3 separate regions of the Homo sapiens genome follow, and all the other regions are linked to region 2. The links are contacts of gene promoters, found by promoter capture Hi-C in human tissues and cell types (Jung and others, 2019). All regions are on one chromosome and are shown on one strand. Each heading gives the region's core, a stretch centred on a gene start or on the middle of the fragment in contact. The rest is flanking DNA. Distances are from core to core; before and after follow the strand shown.

Evidence for each region. Contacts are between HindIII fragments. The study calls those that stand out against the background at their distance.
Region 1: a fragment that was not itself captured here is called in contact with the fragment with the promoter of PRIMA1 in region 2 in 1 of the 25 tissues and cell types used here (dorsolateral prefrontal cortex).
Region 3: a contact is called between a fragment that was not itself captured here and the fragment with the promoter of PRIMA1 in region 2, in 2 of the 25 tissues and cell types used here (spleen and thymus).

The regions. Positions count from the first base shown.
Region 1 is chr14:93,748,768-93,752,130 of GRCh38, forward strand. All of the region lies in intron 3 of PRIMA1 (proline rich membrane anchor 1), which reads right to left. Among named protein-coding and RNA genes, the nearest start is that of PRIMA1, 38 kb to the right of the region's middle. RefSeq lists an enhancer at 1-873. The HindIII fragment of the contact is 8,916 bases long and covers 1-3,363 here.
Region 2 is chr14:93,787,009-93,790,491 of GRCh38, forward strand. It overlaps PRIMA1 (proline rich membrane anchor 1), which reads right to left and starts at 1,477. Exons shown (of 5, transcript NM_178013.4): 1 at 1,402-1,477; 2 at 618-741. The coding sequence starts at 710. RefSeq lists enhancers at 843-1,554, 1,555-2,268, 2,269-2,980. The HindIII fragment of the contact is 12,037 bases long and covers 1-3,483 here.
Region 3 is chr14:93,840,431-93,843,667 of GRCh38, forward strand. No RefSeq gene overlaps it. Among named protein-coding and RNA genes, the nearest start is that of PRIMA1, 54 kb to the left of the region's middle. The HindIII fragment of the contact is 6,425 bases long and covers 1-3,237 here.

The DNA of each region.
Region 1 (3,363 bases), core at 836-3,335, 38 kb before region 2:
GGGCACTGTTCTCAGGCTCGGCTCCTGAGGGGACATTAAAAAAAACCCCAATACATTATTAATAATTGTCTCCATCATTCCTGTGCCTAATTAGGAAAGGAAAATTATGAATCGGGCTTATGTCTCTTGGTGGGGGCAGCCTCAGCTTTTCCCGGTGCAAGGGAGGGTCTGGGTGGAGGCTGGGGCAGGAGCCGGGAACAGCAGGACACTGCCTGATAGAATTAATTACGCTTCTGGTAGCGACTGGAGAACACGTCCCCCTTGTTTTTGCCCAAATAGCCCTCTTTGTTAGACTCCTTAAGGCAAGGCCTTGTTACTCAACAGCATCTACTCTCTTTTAGTAGCTGCATTCCACCCTTTTTCTGTCCTGGCCCTTGGTCCCCTCCCCAGATCTGCCAGGCCTTCTGTTCCCACCAGGGCTGCAGACGCACGGCTGCGCAGAAGGTCCGCATACTTGCCAGCTTTAGGGCAGCCCAGTGCCTTTGAGAAGCAACGAGAGGGGGCCACATGCAGAACTGTGCCCACCCACCCTCGCTGCCTTGATGACTCCTCCTCATTCAGCTGCGAATCCACTCACTGATTCGCTCAATACACATCTGTTAAGAGCCTGCTGTGTGCCATGCACCATGCTAGCACTGGGGACAGGATGGACCCTGTCCTCATGACGCTTATAATCTACTGGAAATTGGACATTCATTAAATCATCACCAAGTAAATGCAGACTGATTCCCAGCTCACCGAGACACTTAACTACATGTGACTTTGGTAACAACAACAGGAAGCTGACAAACAAAAATGAGAATGACTTGACATGGAGAGCCAGTGTGAGCTGACTGAACGTAATGAGCTCATCTTTGCTTGTGAGAGCTCGTGACCTTGGGAAGGGAGAATGCTCCCAATGGTATATATTAAACGCCCAGCAGAGCCCCAGCACCTAGTTGATGCTCAATAGATTGCTTTCTCTCATGGGGGCACTTAATTAACAGGTGATGAGGCTGGGTGCAGTGGCTCACACCTGTAATCCCAGCACTTTGGGAGGCCAAGGCAGGAGGATAGCTTGAGCCCAGGAGTCTGTGACCAGCCTGGGCAACATAGCAAGACAGAAAGTTAAAAAATTAGCTGGGATAAGTAAGCTGGGTGCAGTGGCTCATGCCTGTAATCCCAGCATTTTGGGAGGCCTAGGCGGGCAGATCACCCAAGGTCAGGAGTTCGAGACCAGCCTAGCTAATATGGTGAAACCCTATCTCTACTAAAAATACAAAAAAGTAGCCAGGTATGGTGGCACATGCCTGTAGTCCCTGCTACTTGGGAGGCTGAGGCAGGAGAAACAGAATCGCTTGAGCCCGGGAGGCAGAGGTTGCAGTGTGCCGAGATCGTGCCACTGCACCGTAGCCTGGGAGATACAGTGAGACTCCGTCTAAAAAAAAAAATTTGCTGGGATAGTGAGACAAAAAATAGTGCGACAAAAAATTTTAAAATTATCTGGGCATGGTGCTGCACACCTGTAGTCCCAGCTACTTGGGACTTGCACTGGGAGGCTGAGGCAAGAGGATGGCTTGAGCCCAGGAGTTTGAGGCTGCAGTGAGCTATGATGATGCCACTGCATTCTAGCCTGGGTGACAGAGCAAGACCCTGTCTCAAAACAAACATGACGGGGCCCTCATGAATGCTTCATCAGGTAGAACGTGCTCTGTCTAATTTGTTGTAATCACTTTGCAGAGGGGTTCAGGGTCAACTTAGACCAGTGGTTGACACTGATCTGAAGGCCAAATCTGGCCCACCACCTGTTTTATAAATAAAGTTTTACTGAAACACAGACACACCTATTTGTTTACACCTTGTCCATGGAAGTCTGTATGGCCTGCAGAGCCTAAGATACACTATCTCGCCTTTTACAGAAAGTTTTTTTACCCCTAATTTAGAGGAGTCTTAACCTGAGATTCTTAGACAAGCTTAGAAGAGTGGTCTGAAAGTGTCCTGAAATTATACCACAAATTTGTATTTTGCAAGTAAACAACCCACTCCTTCCGTATTATTTTTAGAAAGGCCCTTTACCCCAAATGTCACACCAAGGCCTAGGTGGAAGTCTCTGGGCATGGGGCACAGGGCTCCATCTTGCCTCGGAGTTTTCATGGTGACAATGTGGTCAGAAAGCAAAGCACAGCAGAAAGACAGGCACAAATTTGGATCCTGACTTGGCCACACCATACCCACTAAGAAACCCCCAGACAAAGCACTTACATTTTACAAGCCTCAGTTTCCCATCGTCAAAGGGTGACAACATTCCCTGGAAGGCTCGGGGGAGCTGCTTCCCACCTGCTGGCCGGGACGCAGGGACTCTGCTCTGGAGGCAGAAAAGCGTCACCTGAAGCTACACGTCTGACTTTTCGGGCACCTGCAGCCCTTCTTCAGGGTCTGCACTAGGGCTGCCAGGGTGGCTATGCACAAGGTGGGGAGCCCAGGAAGTGAAGTCCCATGCCCTGCAGAGCATCCTCCACCAGTAACTGACAGGTGCTAAGTGTGACAGCCTGGCTGGGGACAACTATAGGCTGAAATTGCCTTTGCAGGACTTGGCCTGAGATGGTGCTTTCACTCGGCTTCCCCCCTGCTCCACCCTACCACTTCCGTTGCCTCCTCAGTCTCTCCTGGGGAGCACTTCATTTAAAAATTCTTGCGTTAGGGTCTGAGGACAGGTTCCACATCAGGAACCCCAGACATGAGGTTACCAAGATGCTGAAAGCTCCTGGCCTCCTTCTAAAGCATCAAACAAGAGATGAAATTATATCCCAATGAGATGCATGTGAACTTTCCACATTCTAGATGACTCCTTCCCAGGACCACCCTTTGCTAGTCTCTGGACAGAGCCTAAGTCCTGTTTAAAAGGGTCCTGTAGGGTTAAGCTAAGAATGATTTGAGTCCAAGTTGGGACCAAAAAGGGATGATGACACGGCTGAGAAGAATCACTGCTGCTCAGTTGGTCTTTGTTAAAAAAGGAATAAACCTGAAATGTCTGTGGCTCTGGGACAAAACCATACGTAGTATTGAAGAAAACAATATCCGTATTGACAGTCCAGAGCTGTGTTGTCTAATACAGTAGCCACCAGCCACATGTGGCTACTTAAATTTAAACTCCTTAAAATTAGATACATCAAGAATTCAGTTCCTCTGTTGCACTGGCCATATTTTAAGTGCTCAATAGCTACACGTGGTTAATGGCTACTATTTCGCACAGCACAGACCTAGATCATTTCCACCATCGCAGAAAGTGTATTGGGCCGTCCAGAGTGTTGGGAGGTGGGATGCTCGCTTCTCTTTCCAGAAAGGCAGCCAGGAGCCGTTTTCTTACCCTACTGAAAGCAAATG
Region 2 (3,483 bases), core at 227-2,726:
ACGATGCGCATTCTGGGGGGGACTAGGGACCACCCCATTGAAACCCCTCTCTGACCCTAAGAGGTAACTCCAGTTAGTGGCTGCCTGGCCTCTGCCCTGGGATTTAAGGGACCCAGGGTGAGAGATTCAACCCTGGGCAGTCCTGACAGATGGGCCACCATGCATTATCTGTCTACATCCTCAACTCTGATACCTATAAGAAACACGGCTGCCTTCCGTGTTGAAAACCAGTTTAAGAAAGCTAATTTGAAGTTCATCAGTGGTTCTGGTGAGAAAGAAATAATATATATCCTTGGGATCATTTTTCTTTGTAAGTTTGTTTCTTTGCTGAATTTCTGCCCTAGAATGTTATCATTGGAAGGTATTCTCTGAGCCCCTTTCCATTCCAAGGCCAGCCCGGTCCTGCAGGATTTAGGCCACAATCGAAGCCTCTCTTTGGAGTTTCTTATCTTTTCAGGGGTAGGGTATAGGGGACCGTAGCAGCTTTTCTTTTCCCAAGCTCTTCCGAGAACCAATCAGTGGGGTGGCTGCAAGAGGCCAGGGTCTCAGGAGGGAAGGGACAGCTCGCCCCTTACCCAGGAGGCCCTCCCAGCCAGTGCGCAGCCGGCGCGTCTCACCTGCACGAAGCCCCAGAGCGGGTGGAGCGCGCAGTGCAGCAGCAGCGAGGACCAGCAGCAGCCACGGCGCAGCACCAAGTCCCGGAGGAGCATCTCGGCCAGCGGCGCCCGCTCCTGGGGCGAACTGTCAGGAGAGCAAGGCTAGGGTCAGGCGGACACCGCGCAGGCACTTCCGCCGCCGCGCACCAATATACCTCCCAGCCCGGGTCGGACGGGCACGCCCCGCACCCAGGGGCACCCTAGTAAACCAAGCCTGCACTTACACTCCAGCTTACACCTTCACTGACTCTTCGTCAGTCCCAGAATTCACACTCTTCTTACGCACATCCCCAGAGCCCCGCGTGTACACTTTAGCTCCGCGCACAGCTCCAGAATACTGCGTGCATACCTTGGCCCCATGGACACCTCCAGAAACAGCCAAGCACACTTACTGCGCCCCATTAACCCCCATACAACTCACTCTCACTGTGAGCACACTTCAAACCCGGCGGGCACTACTCACCTGCGCGCACAACCACAGAAACAGCCGTGCACACACACTGATCCCCGTGCACACCCACCGACTCCTGCCTGCACCCTCGCTGACCCTGCATGCACGGCCCCAAGAAATCTCACGCTGCCTGCACCCACACTGCCCAGCCGGCCTCATTGCGCACACTGCAACATAGGCACCTCCGTGCGCTGCCCCTTTGCACGCCTCCGCCCAGCCCCGATCTCCCGCTCCCGGGCGTGGGTTCCCCCACGCCTCCATCTCCGCCCGCACCCTTCCAACGCCTCACGCTACCTTGCCTGGCGGCGGCCCCAGCCGACCCTGGGCTCGGGGAAAAGAGGTCCGCGTTCCCCCCGCGGCAGCTCTGTTTCCCAGCAGCCGGACAGCCCCCATTTAAAGCCAGCCGCCTCCCCAGTCCCCCGCCCTCTAGGCGGGGCCTCCGTCCTCACCTTGGCGGCTGCGCGGGCGCCCGGGGGCTTCACATGCCGGGGAGGAGCGCCCGGCGCTGGAGCAAAAGTTTGCGCGCCGGTTGGGCCTCCCGGGCCGCTGAGCAGAGGACCAGGAGCGGCGTCCTCGCACGGGGCGCAGGGCGCGGTGGCTCCGGACTGCGCCTAGCCGCGCGCGGGGCGGGAGGGGCGGCACCCCGCTCCCAGGGCCAGGGCTGGCCGCCGAGGCGGAGGCAGAGGGCGGGGAAAGTCTCCTCCACGCCGCCTGGAGCCGGCCGCGCGAGCCCTCCCCGGGCCCGCGTTGGCTCCCCGCCTTTCCTGGTGGCGCCGCGCGGCTGCCCGGGGCACTGGGGTGCCCGAGCTCTCTACTACCCTCACGCTGGCCCGCGAGAGGCAGCGGCGGGAGGCGCCGGCAGGGAGCTCCCGCTGGGGCAGCAAAGCCGTGGGTGGAGGCGAAATAAATAATCCACGAAAAAGGAAAACAGACGTGAGCCGAGCCAGAGCCTCTCCCGCCTCCCGCCCGGGGTTGCGCTCCCCCCGCCGCCGCCGCCAGCGCCGCTGCAGTGATTCCTCGTCTCCATCTAGCGAGGCTATTGTGTATTGGGCGCTTAATTATTTATTCACCCTGGAGGCCGAGGATTCCCACTTCCATGGGGTTTTGGCCCTTGCCTGCGCTTCCCCCAAGCCTCTCCCGAGGCTGCGGAAAGGTGGCGAGGACTGACTTGAGACCCTTTTTTGCGCTCCATCCTTGAGGACTCTCCCCGCCGCACTCCCCGCAGGCTCTCCCGGGCGCCGGGGCTGAAAGGTGCAGGCCGCCCCTCTCCCGGCCATGGGCCTTGTCCTCTCCTTTGTAGTCCCAGCAGCAGAAACTCTCTTGCAACACTAGGCTGCGGCTGGGAAGGAGTTGTGACGGCCCTGGGGAGAACATTTCTACCACTGCTCTTCCTCAACCATCTGCAAACTCCTCTGTTTGAGGCAAGATTATCAACAAGTCGGTTCTTCGGGAGGTAGCCTGGTTGCATCTCTTTCAGACAAGCTGTGCCTAGCAGCATCACAGGCATGGCGCGGCCTCTCTGCTCTTGTGGTGGAAGCACTTTGCAAGCGCTTTGACTGATGGGGGCGCCTTCCAGAAGGCCCTCAAGGCCTGGACAATCCTATTTTTAGGTTGGATGAGAGAACCAGGGGCTTAAGACACAGAGCTGAGGGTCAGATACTACAGTGCATGCATGGAAGAAACATTTACTGAGCACCTTTTCCCGGTATTTGGACACCCTTAAGCCACTCATGTAAACACACACTATAAACGCTGGTTTGCAGAGTATAAACTACCTTGCAAGCCAGCTTTCAGAACAACGTCTTAGCGGCCTCCTTCATGCCAGAGCGCCGCCCCGAGGCTGCAGATTGCACCTCAACCAGCAAGATGCAGGGACAAATGTGAATGAGACCTTGTTCCTTCCCCCCTAAGAATTCAGGGGCCTGTCAGGGAGATGGATAAAACCAACCATTCCACTGTGCACTGGCATGTCACACACAGCTGCCCCGAGAAAGGGGAAGACAGGAATGGAGGGCGGGTTGAGTAAAGGCTCCCAGGAGAGGGTGACTTCCTGGGAGTAGGGGAACATCTCAAGCATTGGTAACTCTTTGTGCAAAGAAATGGAGACATTTATTCAATCCTTCATTCCTTCATTCCATATGTAGCCTCCATGGGCACCTGCTGGGGGCCAGACAGAACTCTGGATGCTGGGTAGAAAAGGGAACAAGAGGATATCTCACTGGGGGTGGGATAGGATGGAGGGAGGATGGCAAGAAGATGAAGGGGTAGGGACTTCCTAGGTGACTCATCTACAGTTTGGAGAAATGGAGCAGCTATTGGTCAGCTGAGGTCAAAATAACACTGGATATTTTAATGCCTGTCCGGCTAAAACAAGTC
Region 3 (3,237 bases), core at 172-2,671, 53 kb after region 2:
GTGCTGCCTCAGAGGTCAGTGCCCTCCTCTCAGATGTCTGAGCGTGGCCGCAGGCGCCCCCTGAGAGTTCCAAGCACAGATCTTGCAGTGTCCTGCCCTGAAGGTCTGAGCATGAGCCTTAGGGAGCCTCCTCCTTCACATGCCTAAGTTCTGGACGCTCCATGTCTTTTTTTCTTTTTTCCCCCAAACCTGGGAATGGCAGCTCCTTCTTGCAATTATTAATCTCTGGGTTACCTCTTCATCTTTTGCTTTCTATCTTGTCTCTTCTCTCTCTCTGTCTCTCACCCAGGCTGGAGTGTAGTGATGTGATCTTGGCTCACTGCAGCCTCGGCTTCCCAGGCTCAGGTGATCCTCTCGCCTCCTGAGTAGCTGGGACTACAGGCAAGCGCCACCACACCTGACTAATTTTGTTTTAAATTATTATTATTTTTAGTAGAGACTGGGTTTCACTATGTTGCCCAGGCTGGTCTCAAACTCCTGTACTCAAGCAATTCGCCTGCTTTGGCCTCCCAGAGTTCTGGGATTACAGGTGTGAGCCACGACACCCAGCCTACTTTGCATCTTCTCAACACCTGCACAGTCAATTCCGTATATTAAATCCTCTCTCTTTGAAAAGACCTCTGATTTTCCTTTTCCTGGCCAAATTCTGGCTGATGATACAGTCTGTATCTAGAAATTCTACTTCTAGGAACTTATTTTAAGAAAACAATCATGGATGTGTTAAAAAAAAATGTGACCTAATTTATTAATAGCAAAAATGTCAACCAAAATACCCTAAAAGCCTGACAATGTGAGTAAGTTTTGGGTTTGTGTCCCCCAAATGGATATGTTGAAGTTCTAACCTCTAAAGCTTCAGAATGTGAACTTATTTGGAATTAGAGTCACTGCAGACATAATTACTTAAGATGAGGTTGTACTAGAGTAGCATAGAACCTTAATCCAATATGACTAGTGTCCTTATAAGAATTGAAGAAGGCCAGGCACAGTGGCTCATGTCTGAAATCCCAGCACTTTGGGAGGCCAAGGCAGGAGGATTGCTTGAGACCAGGAGCTTCAGACCAGCGTGGGCAACATAGCAAAACCCCATCTCGACAAAAATACAAAAATTAGCCAGGCATCGTGGCGTGTGCCTGTAATCCCAGCTACTCAGGAGGCTGAGATGGGAGGATCACCTGAGGCTACAGTGAGCCATGATGGCGCCACTGCACTCCAGCCTGAGTGACAGAGTAAGACCCTGTCTCCCCTCCCTCTCACCCCCCCCCAAAAAAAAAAATTGGAGAAAGAAACACAGAGACACACAGAGAAGACAGTCACGAGATGATAGAGGCAGAGACTGAAATTATGCCGCCATGAGCCAAGGATGGCTGGCAACCCCAGAAGCTAGGGGAGTGACATGCTTGGAACAGATTCTCCTTTTGAGCCCCCAGAAGGAACCAATCCTTGATTTTGAACTGCTGGCCTCCAGAACTGCAAGAAAACGCATTTTTTTCTTTTGTAAGCCACCCAGTTTGCAGTGCTTTGTTATGGTAGCCCTAGAAAACTGATACAATGAGATGGGTTAAATAAATTATCCTATAGTCACATGATGGAAAACATAGCAATGATGAAAATACGAAACAATATTGTGGAAAAATGTATGATAATATCAAACGACGTTCATGACGTGTTATGGTAAAAAATAAGACTACACAATTTGAGCCCATTTTTGTAAATCAAAAAAAAAAACAAAACAAAACCACCTATATGGTGAACAACAACAACAACAAACTTGAAAGTTTACACCTCAAATCACAACAATAGTTACATGGGCAGGCGGGAAGTATTGTGCATGATTTCTATTTTCTTTCTTTTGATTATCTTTGTTTCTAAATTTTGTACACCGAGCACAGTTCATTTTTGAACATGGTTTTTTAAAAAGTGCTTTTAGTCTTAGCATTTTCTCTGATTCTTGCAAGGACCTTATGAGGGACTCAGCAGTTCTTGTTACACTTAATGTCCTATGGAGAAACTGAACCCCGCAGAGAGGGGTCAGGGAAAGGTACTTCCTTCCCATGCCATGATCAGAAGTTGAAAGAGAACTTGTTCAAATAAGAGTGGCAGCATTCCTTTCTCTCCTTGAGACCAAGCTCCATCCAGGACGTCTGGAGAGCAAACTGAGTAGATGTGAGTATCCATGATAAATTACCAAAGATGTCATGGGAGAAACCATATAAATCTCTTGGTTATTTTTAGCACCCTCTGTTTCCACTGACTAACTCCACAGGACCTTAGGCAGCTTCCCAGGGACACTATTTTGTTACTTATTTATAATTTATTTTACATTTATGTTGTATTTTTATAAGATTTTCAAACATACAAAAGTAGAGAGAAGAGTAAGCTGCCCTGAGCCCAGCACCCAGCTTCAACAACCATCAAAATTTTGCCATGCCAGCTTTATCCCTACCTTACCCTCAGTTTCCCCTAGAGTATTTCAAAGCAAATTGCAAACTTGATGTCATTGCACTCATAAATACTTCCATGTGCGTCTCAAAAAAGAGGGGAGTGTGTGGATATTTTCTTATTTAACCTCCATGTTATTATCACATCTAACAAAATTAATTATAATTCCCTAATATGGCCTGGTACTGAGTCCATAGTCAAATTTCTACTGGGGCCTTATTTGGGCTCACCTCATTGTCATAAACATCCAGCATTAAACCACGAAGGGGGTGGCGCTTCCCAAATCTCTGAGAGGTTTGTCTTGCTGACATTGCTCTTTCCTGGGGCATGGGGTTGAGTGATGGGTCTGTGATTGGAGAAAGGGCAGGTAGAAGATAGATGCTGCACAATTTGTAGAAAGAGAACTTCAAGAGAATGCTCTGACTCTGCTGTGTGACTTGAGCATGCTACTTATACTCTCTGTGCTGCTATTTCTGCTTCTATGAAGTGTGGAAAATAACCAAAGCCAGTGATTTACCTGTTTATCCACAGGCCCTTTTCCTGCCTTTCCCCATCATGTCTAGAGGGCAGCTTGAGGACCAGAGCTGTGCCCTGAGGACAGCCCTGGGAAGGGATGTGGAAGATCGGGGTTCTCGCTGATGTTGTTGGTCCGCTGAGCTTACCGACCCTGGGACCACCTGCCTTGGACTTCCTGTTTTGAGGTGCAAATGTGTTCTCCAATGGAAAAGAGTCAAAATCTGTAAAATGTTAGGTTTATTCTGAGCCAAATATGAGTGCCTGGGGCCCAAGACACAGAGT